Regions from separate parts of the Homo sapiens genome. Here all the other regions are linked to region 2. The links are contacts of gene promoters, found by promoter capture Hi-C in blood cells and fetal thymus (Javierre and others, 2016). All regions are on one chromosome and are shown on one strand. The core of a region is centred on a gene start or on the middle of the fragment in contact, and the rest is flanking DNA. Distances in the headings are between cores, read along the strand shown.

Region 1 (5,093 bases), core at 1,035-3,534, 150 kb before region 2:
GGCATTCTTAACTCCATTTTATTTAGGCATTCCTCAAATCAATAACTACCACTGTTTTGAATGGCATCAGAATGTAAGCTCTATATATATGTAAGGACTTTGTCTTCTTTACCCCAACGAAAAGTCCCACACATATGGCAGGCTCTTAATAAATTTGTTAAAAAACCTGTATGATGAATCAGATGCTTTACACATGATGATTCTAACCTTATACAACCCTTGCAAGCAAACATCCCCTGGTTACTCATCAGGAAACAGACACAAGGAAGTTAAATAGGGCCTGGTGCGGTGGCTCACGCCTGTAATCCCAGCACTTTGGGAGGCCAAGGCAGGCAGATCCTTTGAGCCTAGGAGTTTGAGGCCAGTCTGGGCAACATGGCAAAACCCCAACTATACAAAAAAATACAAAAATTAGGCATGGTGGCACACAACTGTAGTCCCAAGCTAAGGCATGAGGATCACCTGAGCCCAGGCTGGTTGAGGTTGCAGTGAGCCATGATCATGCCACTGTACTCCAGCCTGGGTGACAGGGTGAGACACTTTCTCAAAGGAAAAAAAAAAAAAAAAAGAGTTAATTGTTGCCCGTCACAGCAATTAATACAGATCCTTCTCACTCTAAAACCTTACACTCAGTAATGATCTACTATATGCAAAGCACCTCTTACATCCTTCACCACCCCATTCATTCTGAGATTGACTCCTCCCCTTTCCAGAAACAGGACCACCTAAACATTCCCTATTCCAGTCCCTTATTTGCAAGTCATCAAAAGAAAACAGAGATTTCAAAAAGAAAACAGAGACCTTATCTGTAATCCTTGGTAAGGATCTTCCAAATTTAAGCCTATGCCAGTTTTCAGGAGGAAACATGAATATGAAACAGTCTGACCTTTAGACATAATTTTTTGTTGACTTTAAATTCCCTTGGTTAGGCCACTGTAACCAGTAAAATAAATTTTATTTTAGAATAAAAATTATAAAGGGGAAATTGAGTCTAGCCATACAACCTACTACTAGTTACTATCTTTGATTCCCAAGTCATCCTAGAGCAAAAAAAAAAAAAAAAAAATCATCTCTGGCCTTTTTTTCCTTTTCCACTCAGGTGAAGAGAATGAGCTTTTGAATCCAATTTTTTGTTTTCTCCTATATTCAATTCAAGTAGCTTTAAAGTTAACCAAAGGAAAAAACCAAAGCTCAATATTTGATTAAACGAGAAAATATACACTACTTAGAAGCTTTCTTTTCTTTATCCTTCTTCCCCAACTCAAGGCTTAGTAGAATTATTGAAAGAGGTAGTATTCAGTAGAATAGTACACATGCTTTTTCAGGTCCAGAAACACCACATAGGTCAAGTTATCATGCTTACATGTGGGGAAAAGGAGGAGGGAGTTTCCTGGACCTCTGTGCCTCTCTCAGCTCATGAACTAGTTTCAGTGAATATCCTTGTCTTACCACTGTGCCAACAATTCAGAGCTATACGTGGAAAACCTACCTTCAACTTTTTGAGTGGCATCTATTGCTTCTTTGATTGTTCCTTCCAGCAAGGAGCGATCAAAGGCTAGCCCCCTTCCCACTCCCACCAGAATCAGATTTGCTCAAGATTACAACCCTAATTTAGTAATAAGATGCAATACATAAAATAGTTCCCACTTTCCTTTTCCAATCCCTTTACAGTCATGAGGGCCTATCACGCACGCATCTCAGGACAGGTGAGACTTCATTATATCAGGTATTTTGTTGCTATTCTAAGTTATAAGGCAGTAATACAAACTTTCTTTCCACAGCTTTGTAAGCCTTGTGCCAAAAGAAACTTTTAAAACAGCTACAGCAAGATGAGTCTGACTATGGCTTAGTATCTTTCTCATTACAATAGGCACAGAGAAGAATGCAACAGGGCACAGGGGAAGAGATGCTAAATATACCAAGAATCTGTGGAAATATAAGCTGGGGCAAATCAGTGTAATCCTTGACTTTGCTCCTCACCATCAGGGCAAACTTGCCTTCTTCCCTCCTAAGCTCCAGTAAATAAACAGAACAGCTTTCACCAAAGTGGGTAGTATAGTCCTCAAATATCGGATAAATATATGCGTTTTTGTACCCCAGAAAAACTTTTCCTCCCTCTTCATCAACATAGTAAAATAAGTCAAACAAAATGAGAACACCAAATTTTGGGGGAATAAATTTTTATTTAACACTGCAAAGGAAAGAGAGAGAAAACAAGCAAAGATAGGTAGGACAGAAAGGAAGACAGCCAGATCCAGTGATTGACTTGGCATGAAAATGAGAAAATGCAGACAGACCTCAACATTCAACAACATCCATACAGCACTGCTGGAGGAAGAGGAAGATTTGTGCAGACCAAGAGCACCACAGACTACAACTGCCCAGCTTCATCTAAATACTTGTTAACCTCTTTGGTCATTTCTCTTTTTAAATAAATGCCCATAGCAGTATTTGGAGTCTTTTCTTTTCTCCTAAATCCACAAACTCTCTTCTTTCTCTTTGGACAGATGACCTCTTGTCATAGTTAAGCAGAGAGTGGGCAGGATATTCCTGATAGGAGGAACTACATGAATAAAGGGGTAAGAGCACAGAAATTTAGCTACAGCTCCATGGTGAGCCATTAAAAGGAAAGAGACACTTTACCTGTGCTCCTTGGCAAGGACCTGCCAAATGTGGGAGCTAAGGTTTGTGGGAACGGAAAGAGATATGGCTGAAGTAGATGAGTAAGACTCTTATTAGTGATAGTCTTGAACCTCAAACTAAGGATTTTAGACTGTATCCCATGGAGATAAAAGGACTAGCCATGGAGGCAAAAAGACCTGGATTCAAATTCTGGCTCTGCAACATACCAGCTATTTGTCATTGGGCAAATGAATTTTTTTTTTTTTTTTTTGAGACGGAGTCTCACTCTGTTGCCCAGGCTGGAGTGCAGTGGCATGATCTCAGCTCACTGCAACCTCCACCTCCCGGGTTCAAGCAATTCTCCTGCCTCAGTCTCCCAAGTAGCTGGGATTACAGGCATGCACCACCATGCCTGGCTAATTTTTGTGTTTTTGGTAGAGACGGGGTTTCACCATGTTGGCCAGGCTGGTCTCAAACTCCTGACCTCAAGTGATCCACCCGCCTCAGCCTCCCAAAGTGCTGGGATTACAGGCGTGAGCCACCTCACCCAGTGCAAATGAGGTTTTGAGATGCTATTTCTGTTTACCTATCTGTAAAAAGGGATATTGCCTATTGTATCTTCTCTTTCCACAGAATTGTTCTGAGAATCAAAATGAGAGTCTGGATTTGGGACCTAGAGCCATTTGAGTTCTGACTCCAAAGTCTCCAAAGCTTTCTCCACTACATCACATTCATCTTAATCTTTCTCTACCTGTTTTAAATAGTTAGTTCTGTGTTTCTAACTAAATAATAAACTCACATAGGTAGAGATGTCTTTTGTTTTTACTATTCAAATAATCTTCTGGAGCTACTCAACATTATACAATCACTGGAAGTCTCAGAAGATATATCCAACTATAGGAAAAGTTTCAGCCATTGTACTATACTAATTATAGTCCACATATAAAAATCTGTGACACATAATCACAGAAAGGAAACATCACTGCCCAAGTTTATGAAGACATTTAAGAGCATCAGATTACTAGCTCTGACTCAAACTAAGCGGAATATATACAAAGCAATCCCACTTTGTACATACCAACTGAGTCTTGCTTCTAAAGAGTTTATTTACTCTGCTTATCTCGAGACTTGGTTAAACAGAAACTTAAAATACTTGTGTCTTGGCTTTCAAAATGTGTTGATACAATTGCCTTCAAATAAGCCTACAAATTTTCATGCATAATAGGTGGTTTTCTGGACACGCATCTTAGCCCCAATCTGTATGAGTGATTCACAAACACGGGTTTTGAACCTGTGAGGCCATGAGGTTATCAGAAGGAATCTATATACCATAATCTTCAGCCTGAATAAATATCTTTCAAATATTTGTATATATTTCAATTGGATGTAGATTCTGGTGTGACTAATAAATTAACTTAAAAGCATTACTGAAATCATAGCAGCTTTTTGTTATGTATTCTTTAATCAAAAATACTAATAATATGGCTATCAAGTTGTTGGAAGGGAATCTAATAATTTGGGGGTTTTTGTTTTGAGACAGGGTCTCTCTCTGTTGCCCTGGAGTGCAGTGGCACAATCTTGGCTCACTACAACCTCTGCCTCCTTGGTTCAAACGATTCTCCCTCCTCAGCCTCCCAAGTAGCTGGGACTACAGGTGCATGCCACCACACCTGGCTAATTTTTGTATTTTTAGTAGACATGGTGTTTTATTGTGCTGCCCAGGCTGGTCTCAAACTCCTGACCTCAAGTGATCTGCCTGCCTCAGCCTTCCAAAATGCTGAGATTACAGGCATGAGCCACAATGCCCAGCCAAGAATCTAATAATTTTTGGATCTTGAAAATTGTATTTCTTATTAGAAAAAGTAAAGAATCACAGGCTTACATCCTATGATCACAGATCTAAGTGTTCTGGTTGAAAGAGGAAGAAGAGGCAACATACAAACTACACTTCTGTGGACACCAAGTGTAGTGTGGCAGGAAAACATAAAGTTTGCATGTATAAAACCTTAAAAGTTGAATGCCTACAATGTACTTGTCTGTGGCAGGTATGAGAGATCGAAACCTTACAATGTCAATGGGATCAGACAAGGGCTCTATTTTGATCCTGGAAAGCATCACCAGCTGTATACATTGTATTCTATGCATTCTATTTTAAACCCCTGGAGCAGCTCAGTGGCTCGCTGGCTGAATACTGAGACACTGACATTACTGCAGGCTAGGATTTCCCCCTATAGGACAGCCACTTGTGATACTTACCCCATCAAAGTTTTCCTCCATCTTACTGTGACAGAACCTACATGAGATTCATTCGGGAAATTCTCAACAAGAGGACTCTATCCTATAAGTCGTCCCCAATCCCCAGATCTCCAATGGATTATTCTTGTAAACAGCACTTTTACCTTCCGATCGCTCTACCACAGAGGCCAAAAAGGGTTTTCCCCTAACATCCAAATACCTATTCAGATACCAGC
Region 2 (4,411 bases), core at 104-2,603:
CTAAATTAGCCGTAACCCCAACCTCTACAGAAAATTCCATTTCCAAATAAGGGGGCTCTCTGTAAGAGATCTCTAGAGAAGAAGAAGCAATACCCTCCCTAAGCCACCACCTTCTATAATCTTATGTTTTTTTTTTTCTGGGAGAACATGGGGAATAGAGTGACTTCTGCTGGGAACTCTGAGTCTGCTCTATCCTCTTCTCTCATCATCACTTTCCCCCACCTCAACCAAGGAAACAGAGAGTATCATTCCTAAGCAACTGGGCAAGGGTTCAGGAAATGAATAATCTGGGGAAAAGCAGGCAGAAAGGCCTTGAGCCTTGACTGGCCCAAGAACCAGTCTGATGATCAGACACTGCAGTGAACTGGCTGGGGTGGACTCTGCAGGCAACTCACCCAGTCCTCTGGGGAGCAGTCAGGCAACTGTGCATCCTCTGGCAGTGCCTGTGAGGCTGACCAGACTGCAATATTAACTCACAGCAAGCAGGCAGGAGGAAAAGTGGGACTGGCGACCACTGGGCAGAGTAGGGCAGAGGTTGGAGGGGAGAACAGAAGGTTGCTGTTGTGGGAGCATCAATTGGAAAAAGGTTTGGAGTGATGTTTGAGGAACAGCAGTGCTGGTGAGAGATGGGAGTGAAAGTGGCATGGGGCAGGAGGGAAGCAATGACAGAGGAGATTGTGAAAAAGGGTTAGCAGAAGGCACAGGGCTGGGAGTGCTTGTTGAACTAACAGGAAACAGCAAGGATAGAGCTACGTGGAAGGCAAGATTGCGGGGACAGGGCAGGGATGAAATATGGGGCTCTGGGGCATGACTTGGTGGTGTAGAATGGAGCTTGAGGCCAGGCAGGGGCTGAGGAAGATGCTTGGGGGAGGTTTGGTACTGGGAGACGGAGCAGAAGTAGGGTCAGGGCCATGGGAAGGGGACAGAGTTGCAGAAAACGAACCAGAAATCGGGGGTGTAGATGCTAGGAGGACAAGAAAGGGGCCGGGGAAAGGGCCTTGGGGATGGCAGAGGTGAGCAGGGCAAGTCAGAAGCTGCAGGGCAGGGTCTTGAGGAAGGCAAAGCTGGCGGGCTTCCTTGCAAGACTAGAAGAGCTAGAAAGACTGATAAAAAGAAAAGGCGATGATGCATTGAGACGGGACTAAAGACTTCTGTCACCACAGAGCTGGGATCCCAACCCCATCCTCCCACACATTTTGGCACCTACCGCCACCTGTGTGCTGGAGCAGGAGAAGATACGCTTCATGGCCGGGGTCGGGGCCACGGGGGATGGGGACGCGCAGAGAGCCGGGCCACAGGTTCCCGAACCCACCGGACTTGGCTGCGGCTGTGCAAGAGACAGCTGTCAAAAAGCAGAGCGGGCCCCGCCCCACGATCCGCCTCAGAACCCGCCCTGCTCAATCAGAGGCAAGAACCCAAGGGCTGGGCTCAAAACTCCGCCCCTGGCCCTGCCCTACCCCATCCCTGCAGAGGAGAAAAGCCCGCAGTCTTAGGCTGCGACGGGGGCTTGGCCTCGAACCTCGCCCTTCAAATCTGAACCCACCCTGGGATCCGACCTGCTCAATCAGGAAAGGAACCGGGTGGGCTCCAGCTGAGACTCCTCCCGGACCCGGACCCGCCCCACCCTCAGTTCCAGGCGGGGCCTCCGCCCCAAGCCCCGCCTCAGCCCCGCCCCTCGGAGAGCGGCAGCCAGAGGCAGGAGGGTCCCGGCTTCTACCAGGGGCTTCGGTCTCACGGACTGTCGCATTTGCATTTAATCACTGGTAAAGTTACCTCTGCCCCCGCCAACTCCCCCCGCCTCTCCCCCGCCACTATTCCCCGGCCAAAAACCCAAGCAAAAAAGAGCATTTGAAGAGAGCAGTTCGGAAATAGGAGATTGTAGTGTTAAGCAGAGCAGAGATAATGCGCGGCCCACGGTAACCTGGGGGACAAAACCTAAGGAAAGGTGATCAGGTTCAATTTTATTTTTTCTTTCTGTTTTCTGAGACAGTGTCTCTAATCTGTCCCTCTGTCGGCCAGGCTGGAGTGCATGGCGCTATCATAGCTCACCGTAACCTCCAACTTGTGGGCTTAAGGGATTCTCTCACTCCAGCCTCCCGAGTAGCTGAGACTACAGGCATGCACCACCACGCCTGGCTAATTTTTTTTTTTTTTTTTTAAGAGATGGAGTGTCTCTATGTTACCCAGTCTGGTCTTCAACTCCAGGCCTCAAGCGATTCTCCTCACCGTAGCCTCCCAAAGCGCTGGGATTATAGGCATGAGCCACCACTATTCCTGGCCCAGGCTCAATTTTTAAACGCACATCTGAATTAGAAAACAGCAGAGAGCGAGGAGAGCAATTTTATTTTAAGCTGCCCCCCCCGCCCCCGCCCCCGCATAGAAACAAAAAATAACCAAACAAAAAACTGTCTTCATTATTTCCACTGCCCTTGAAGTTCAGGCTCTTGGTAATTCTTGAACAGTCAGTCGCAGCCAACTGGTCTTCCTGTCTTTCTTTTCTCCTCTCCCCGCCGGAGAGAGCTCACTAAAATGCATATGAAAACCTACAGGGTAAAGCCCAAAGTTCTTAAGTGGTTTACAAGGCTCTTCAGGAGTCATATGCTGCCGCCCTCTTTCCCAGTCCCATCTCTCATTACTTTCACACAAAAGAGCCACTCAAACTGTTTCTTTTTTTATTATTATTATTTTTATTTTTTGAGACAGAGTCTCACCCAGACTGAAGTGCAGTGGCACAATCTCGGCTCACTCACCGCAGCCTCTGCCTTCCCGGTCCAAGCAATTCTCCTGCCTCAGCCTCCCAAGTGGCTGGGATTACAGGTATGTGCCATCACGCCCGCTAAGTTTTGTATTTTTAGTAGAGACAGGGTTTTGCCATGTTGGCCGGACTGGTCTCAAATTCCTGACCTCAAGTGATCCACCTGCCTTGGCCTCCCAAAGTGCTGGGATTACAGGCGTGAGCCACTATGCCTGGCCTTGTTTTTTTTGTTTTGAGACAGGGTCTCGCTGTCACCCAGGCTGGAGTGTGATAGCATGATCGGGGCTCACTGCAGCAGCCTTGACTTCTTAAGCTCAAGGGATCCTCCCACTTCAGCCTCCTGAGTAGCTGGGACTATAGGTGCACATCACCATGCCCAGCTAATTTTCATATATTTGGTAGAGATGGGGTTTCACCATGTTGCCCAGACTGGTTTTGAACTCCTGGGCTCAAGCGATTCTCCTCACCTCAACTCCCAGAGCACCAGGCCTCAAACTGTTCTAATTTACAATTCCCTTTGCAGCTGGTGATTAATCCTCCCAAGAATGCCTCCTGTCACATTTGATCCCTGCGGTGGAAAAGTTAAATATTAAATTTGAACTCAATTGAACGTGGACAGAAACAATGGTCACCAAGTCCCAGAACAGGTTGTGTGAGCCCCTTGAGGTGTTCGTCCAGCACTGTTTTGGAGAAATCTCTATTTCAATCTATTCCTACACGTTAGTTATTGAAAAACAATAGACAATTGCAAAAATAAGTTGAATGTTTTGTGTTCCTTGAGCCCAGTCGCCAAGGGCCCCGTGACTGGGCCTCATGCCAAACAACTCGTTACAAAAAGAGCTAGGGTCCCAGACTGCGCCAAAACTTCATGAGACCTCTCCTCGTCTGTGCATGGATGAGTGGCCAACTCTGGAGCCCAGGCTGTTGCTTCTCAGTCTGGTGGTGAATCCTCTATAGTCTTATGAGTGCGGTGTTCAACTCTGGAACCCAGGCTGTTGCTTTCCAGTCTGGTGGTAAATCCTCCATAGTCTGGTGAATGTAAACATCTTTTCCCTTCTCCCCTTCCCATTGCAATTTGCTTATTATATCAATCTGTTTATTATATCATTTGCTTACTTATTATATAATTTGCTTATTATATTAATTTGCTTGTACCATTTGCTTATTATATCTCCATTGCCATTTACATGGGATAAAGCTTGTTTACCCTTAAAGGTATTGTGTGTGTCTCTTCTTCTCCCCTTGTGCGTTTCCTGCACAGAACAACCCCGCAGCCAAATTTCTTTTTTCTATAAAGTTTTCCCTTACAACCCCGCCACCCCCACCGCCCAACAAAGTATGCCTCTTGTATGACATACTCCTAGTGCTTGTTGATATATAGCAACCACCTCTTTGCATTTGCCATTTTTTTTTGTTTTTGAGATAGTGTCTCACTCTGTCACCCAGGCTGCAGCGCAATGGCGTGATGTCGGCTCACTGTAACCTCCACTTCCTGGGCTCGTGCCATCCTCCCACCTCAGCCTCCCAAGTAGATGGGACTACAGGTGCGTACCACCATGCCCAGCTAATTGTTTCTGTATTTTTGGTAAAGACAGGGTTTCACATGTTGTCCAAGATGGTCTCGAACTCCTGAACTCAAGTGATCCACCTGCCACG
Region 3 (5,105 bases), core at 2,590-5,089, 170 kb after region 2:
TCACATACTTTTGGATTCACAAATGTTAGATTAATCCATGAGAGAAGCATTGTTTATTTATTTATTATTATTATTATTTTTTGAGATGGAGTCGGCTCTGTTACCAGGCTGGAGTGCAGTGGCGCAATCTTGGCTCACTGCAACCTCTGCCTCCTGGGTTCAAACTATTCTCCTGCCTCAGCCTCTCAAGTAGCTGGGATTACAGGCACCTGCCACCACGCCCAGCTCATTTTTGTATTTTTAGTAGAGATGGGGTTTCACCAAGTTGACCAGGCAGGTCTCGAACTCCTAACCTTAGGTGATCTGCCCGCCTCATCCTCCCAAACTGCTGCAATTACAGGCATGAGCCACCACACCCAGGAAAGGGAAGCACTTTTTTTTTTCTGTTTTTATAGATGAAGAAATAGAGATACAGAAAATTCAGTAACGTTTTAAAAGTCACATCATGAACCAACCAAGATTTCAACCTGGAAATTGAGGCTTCACCACAAGTGAAGACTGGGATTTTCTTGTTTTCAATTATTGGGAGTTTTGGATTTCCAGGAATGTGCAGTTGTAAAAACCCAGCTTCAGGAAGTGATGAAATAAGTGCAGTGGCTCTGGAGTAAGCTCTGAAGCCCCAGGCTCAGGCTCTATTGAAAAATTACTTTTGCTGAAATATTCTTGTTTTTAGGAACTTCCATGGAACTTGAGCCTTCGCACAGCGTATTTTGGCATCGAATTTAAAGCTAGTAGAGGTCCGGAAGATTCCCAGGATTAAAGTCTTTAAACAGAAAGCGTGAATCTTGCCTAAGTAAAAGGTACCATCTCTGGGTGGGCTTGAACCACCAGCCTTTCGGTTCAAACAGCCGAAGGCACTAACCGATGGCGCCACAGAGACTCTAATGGTTTAGATTTGCTGATACCAGAAATGGCATTTTAACCTCTGGCCGTAGATAATCTCATATGTTTGTAGCCTGTCCAATCCCGCGCACTCCAGAAACCCAGAACACGGGAGACATTGAAGCCAAGAGTCGAGTCTTTGGGCACTTTGGACGTTCTACCCGGGCAGAGTCAGCTGGGGGACTCCAACGGCCAAACGGCCGCCTGCTCCTCACCGTCTGCTCTTCACTGGTTCCCCCGCCTGCTCTTCACCGTCTCAAAAGTCGCCGGCCCCTCTACAGGCGACAACTGCAGCTTCTCCGGCGGAAGTCACTCGCTTTCCCATTCTTAGCCCCGCTTCACACCTTGAGCTCACAGTCATTTCCGCCGGGCCTGGGCTAGCGGACGCGCGCGTGGGAAGGACCAGAACCCGTGGTGTCCTCACCGCGTCACCCTCGGGCCCTCAGAGGTGGGATCCACCGGACAGGGACCTGGAGTTTGCACAGGCTGCAGCCCTTCGCCCAGAGCCAGCCTAGCACCTAGTAGGTGCCCAATAAATGCTTGGTGAAGGAAGGCATTCCACCGCAGGGTTTTAGGAGAACCATGAATTCCCGTGTGAACGTTAAGCGTTTAGTCCTACTAGGAAGTCTGGAATATAGAGACCTGAACTGTTTCTCAAAGGCAGCTGTTCTTGTATCCCCAGAGCCGGTTTAGAATCCAGCAAAGGCCCCTGCCCGGTGGATCCCACCTCTGGAGACCCGAGGATAGTGCGGTGGGGGGCACCGCGGGTTCTTGTCCTTCCCACGCTCACGTCCACCGGCCCAGGCCCAAAGGAACTGGCTGTGGGTACAAGATGTGAAGATAGTTACAAATACCAGCTAGTGCCAGTGCCAGTTGCAGAAATCAGGACTTGTAATAGTTATGAGTATTTCTTCATTATTTTGAGATGAATACATTTGGGTGTATATTAACCAAAACTTTTCTTGAGAATTCTCCTCTTCCATCACCCTAGCTAGCACATTCATTAATAATTAACTTTTAGAAATCTCAATATTTAGGTTACAGGAAAGCAAATATGGAATGTGATCTATCTAGCTAAAAAAGGAGTGAACATCATTCAAAGACAAAGACTTTATCCTGTTGGGGAAAGGGTTGGCATATTTTCACTGAATGAGAAAAAGTATGATTTTCATATTGTCTTTATTTGAACCTTAAGTATGATTTTACAAGGAGGAAAAAGGAGGAGGAAGAAGCAAAAGAAGAGGAAGAGGAGGAAAAAAAGAAGAGGAGGAAGATGTACATTGATGCCACTTTGAGAAGAAGTGGACTGTGGTGGATTTGTAATGTATCAGTTTTGCCAAGCTGAATGCACATTTCCCAGATTTGCCATCTTTAGATAGCTCTAGGTTAGCCTGGGCAACAGGAGACACTTGGAAGATAGAATTCGAGTGGCTGTTACACTCTTTTGTATACTGGGAAGGGCGTTGTTACAGCTCAGGCATGATCTTCAGCTTCCCTGACCCTTGGACTGGTGGGTGTTTTGCTTCTTGATCTAACATTAAGGTTAGAAGTTGCAGGATTCCAGCAGGGTTTTGTCACATCCAATCTGGTTTAAGTTCTCATATTATTAGGAAAGCTTTAGGGTGCTTCAGGAAAACGCTTTTTAAAAAATCAAATTTGGAAAATATCAAATGGAATTATAGGCAATAAGCATAACCCAGTGGAACCATGAATCAAACCCTCTAGAGCAGGGTTGTCTAAATTTTGGCTTCCTTGGGCCACACTGGAAAAAAAAAAAAGACACTTGTCTTGGGCCAAACATAATATACACTAATCGCAATTGAACTGTACCTGTAAAGCTTGTAAACAAAATGTGTCTGTAAAGTCTGTAAACAGGCCAGGTGCGGTGGCTCAGGCCTGTAATCCCAACATTTTGGGAGGCCGCGAGGCAGGCGGAAAACTTGAGGTCAGGAGTTCAAGACCAGGGTGGCCAACATGGTGAAACCCTGTCACTCTTTTTTTTTTTTTTTTTTTTTGAGACGGAGTCTCACTCTGTCGCCCAGGCTGGAGTGCAGTGGTGCGATCTCAGCTCACTGCAACCTCTGCCTCCCGGGTTCAAGCGATTCTCTTGCCTCAGCCTCCTGAGTAGCTGGGACTACAGGCACGTGCCACCACACCCGGCTAATTTTTTTTTTTTGTATTTTTATTAGAGATGGGGTTTCACTGTGTTAGCCAGGATGGTCTTGACCTCCTGACCTCATGATCCACCCGCTTCCGCCTCCCAAAGTGCTGGGATTACAGGCGCGAGCCAGTGCGCCCGGCCCGGTGAAACCATGTCTCTACTAAAAATTCAAAAAATTAGCCGGACCTAATTTTTTGGTTGCCTGAGCCTGTAATGCCAGTTACTCGGGAGGCTGAGTATTCTCTGGTTGAGGAAGGAGAATAGCTTGAACGCAGGAGGCAAAGGTTGCAGTAAGGCGAGATCGCGCCATACACTCCAGCGGACTGTTTGCTGTTAATCCCATAGGGAAAAGAAAAGCTTAGTTTTATTTCTATAGAACAACAACAAAAAAAGATAAGAGATTAGTAGAGACGGGTTCACTATATTTGCCCACACACGCCTGAGGTCGAGCGATATTAACATAAACATAACCTATCGACGTACCTCATAGATTGCTGGGATTACAAACGTGAGAACCACGATGTCCCAAATTTTTAGTTTCAGTGAAGTTACAGATGGGAACAAAGACCTGATTCTCAGCTTACGCTGACGCCCAGTATGCGTTTCTGCAGCAAACAAAACCTATTTTTAAAACGACAAAAATACAGGGGAAAGCGCGAATGCAGTCTACCACTGCCACAAATTATACAGTCAAGTTTCCCACATTTGGGGAAACTGCAGGGGTCAGCAGATCCGGAGTGCAATGGATAAGACTCGCTCTGGAAAAACCACCTTCGTGACCAGGGTATCTCTCCTGCCAGGTAAGTATGAGTTATTGCACCTCCGCCCCGCCGGCAGCCTCACACGCTTCACCCTTTACACGCACGGTCACTTGCCCCGCGCACACCCCCCTCCCCCCCAGCCCTCCTAGCCCTGACACACAGCTGGGACTCTCAGGTCCGACCAGCGGTCCTGAACCCGCTCCCACGGCACGGGAACTCCTTCGTGGCGAAGCAGCATGTGGCGAAGCAGCAGCCCCTGCGCTGGCTCATCTACATAGAAGTCGCCCTATCCGTGATGTCACCGACAGCGCCTTTCCCAGTCCCCGTCTGCCTTTCTGCCGCTCAGCCGACCAACCCGCTGCCGGAGCCGGCAAGGGGAAGTGACGTCTGCCTCTCCCTTTTTTCTCTCCTGCTTCCCTCATCTGTTCTCTTCCAAAGAAGCTGGTCCTTAGCCTGTATTGCGGAGCAAGCTTTCGGCGACCAGCTGGACCCTGGGCACCCTTCTTCGAACAATGGCTTTTAATTCTCAGACTAGAACGTTTAGGATTACAAAAGAAACTGGTTCTTTTCACATTCTTATTCTTGTGATGTAGCATTCCGCATATATATATATATATATATATATATATATATATATATGTATCCAACTATCCTAAAAGACACTACCCTTCATCATTCCATGCCATTAGACATGTATAGGACCATGCATGGTGATCTCCTCCAGACAAAAGTAAATGCTGGTGCAGAACAGGTAAGTGTACTATAATTTGAGTACATCAGCTTTTGGGCATTTTAAACCATGGGTCAGACAAGTTAGAGCAAGAGGGCAGGTTGATAGCAAGAGGGAGTGTTTTTCTTTTAATTTTCTTTTTTTTTGTTTTGAGACGGAGTCTCGCGCTCTTCGCTCAGGCTGGAGTGCAGTGGGGCTATCTCGGCTCACTGCAAGCTCCGCCTCCCGGGTTCACGCCATTCTCCTGCCTCAGCCTCCCCAGTAGCTGGGATTACAGGCACCTGCCACCACGTCCGGCTAATTTTTTGTATTTTTAGTAGAGATGGGGTTTCACTCTGTTAGCCAGGATGGTCTCGATCTCCTGACCTTGTGATCCGCCCACCTCGGCCTCCCAAAGTGCTGGGATTACAGGCGTGAGCCACCGCGCCCGGCTTCTTTTAATTTTCAAATAGCAAAGTGATGTTTGCCACTGTCATTTCAGAATGAGGTGACAATTTGTTGTTGTTTGGTTTTGTGGGGTTTTTTGTTTGTTTGTTTGTTTCTGAGACAAGGTCTCACTGTCGCCCAGGTT

What was found. Contacts are between HindIII fragments. The CHiCAGO score rates a contact against its expected background, and 5 or more counts as called.
Region 1: a fragment that was not itself captured here is called in contact with the fragment with the promoter of ANKRD35 in region 2 in 2 of 17 cell types (erythroblasts and endothelial precursors); the score reaches 5.7 in erythroblasts.
Region 3: a fragment that was not itself captured here is called in contact with the fragment with the promoter of ANKRD35 in region 2 in 15 of 17 cell types (naive B cells, non-activated CD4 T cells, naive CD4 T cells and 12 more); the score reaches 12.2 in naive B cells.

Annotation. Positions count from the first base shown.
Region 1 is chr1:145,736,705-145,741,797 of GRCh38, forward strand. It overlaps CD160 (CD160 molecule), which reads left to right. Exons shown (of 6, transcript NM_007053.4): 6 at 1,782-2,584. The coding sequence ends at 1,789. It overlaps RNF115 (ring finger protein 115), which reads right to left. Exons shown (of 9, transcript NM_014455.4): 9 at 2,164-5,093. Among named protein-coding and RNA genes, the nearest start is that of CD160, 20 kb to the left of the region's middle. The HindIII fragment of the contact is 2,101 bases long and covers 1,235-3,335 here.
Region 2 is chr1:145,884,513-145,888,923 of GRCh38, forward strand. ANKRD35 (ankyrin repeat domain 35) reads right to left here and starts at 1,354. Exons shown (of 14, transcript NM_144698.5): 1 at 1,208-1,354. The coding sequence starts at 1,246. It overlaps ANKRD35-DT (ANKRD35 divergent transcript), which reads left to right and starts at 1,668. Exons shown (of 3, transcript XR_001737758.2): 1 at 1,668-1,763; 2 at 2,704-2,817; 3 at 3,279-3,969. RefSeq lists silencers at 1,228-1,417, 1,658-1,747. The HindIII fragment of the contact is 4,625 bases long and covers 1-3,955 here.
Region 3 is chr1:146,048,394-146,053,498 of GRCh38, forward strand. RNVU1-6 (RNA, variant U1 small nuclear 6) reads right to left here and starts at 3,851; the gene lies at 3,688-3,851. It overlaps LINC01719 (long intergenic non-protein coding RNA 1719), which reads left to right and starts at 4,203. Exons shown (of 3, transcript NR_125968.1): 1 at 4,203-4,555. RefSeq lists enhancers at 3,061-3,789, 3,790-4,521 and a silencer at 3,701-3,940. The HindIII fragment of the contact is 874 bases long and covers 3,403-4,276 here.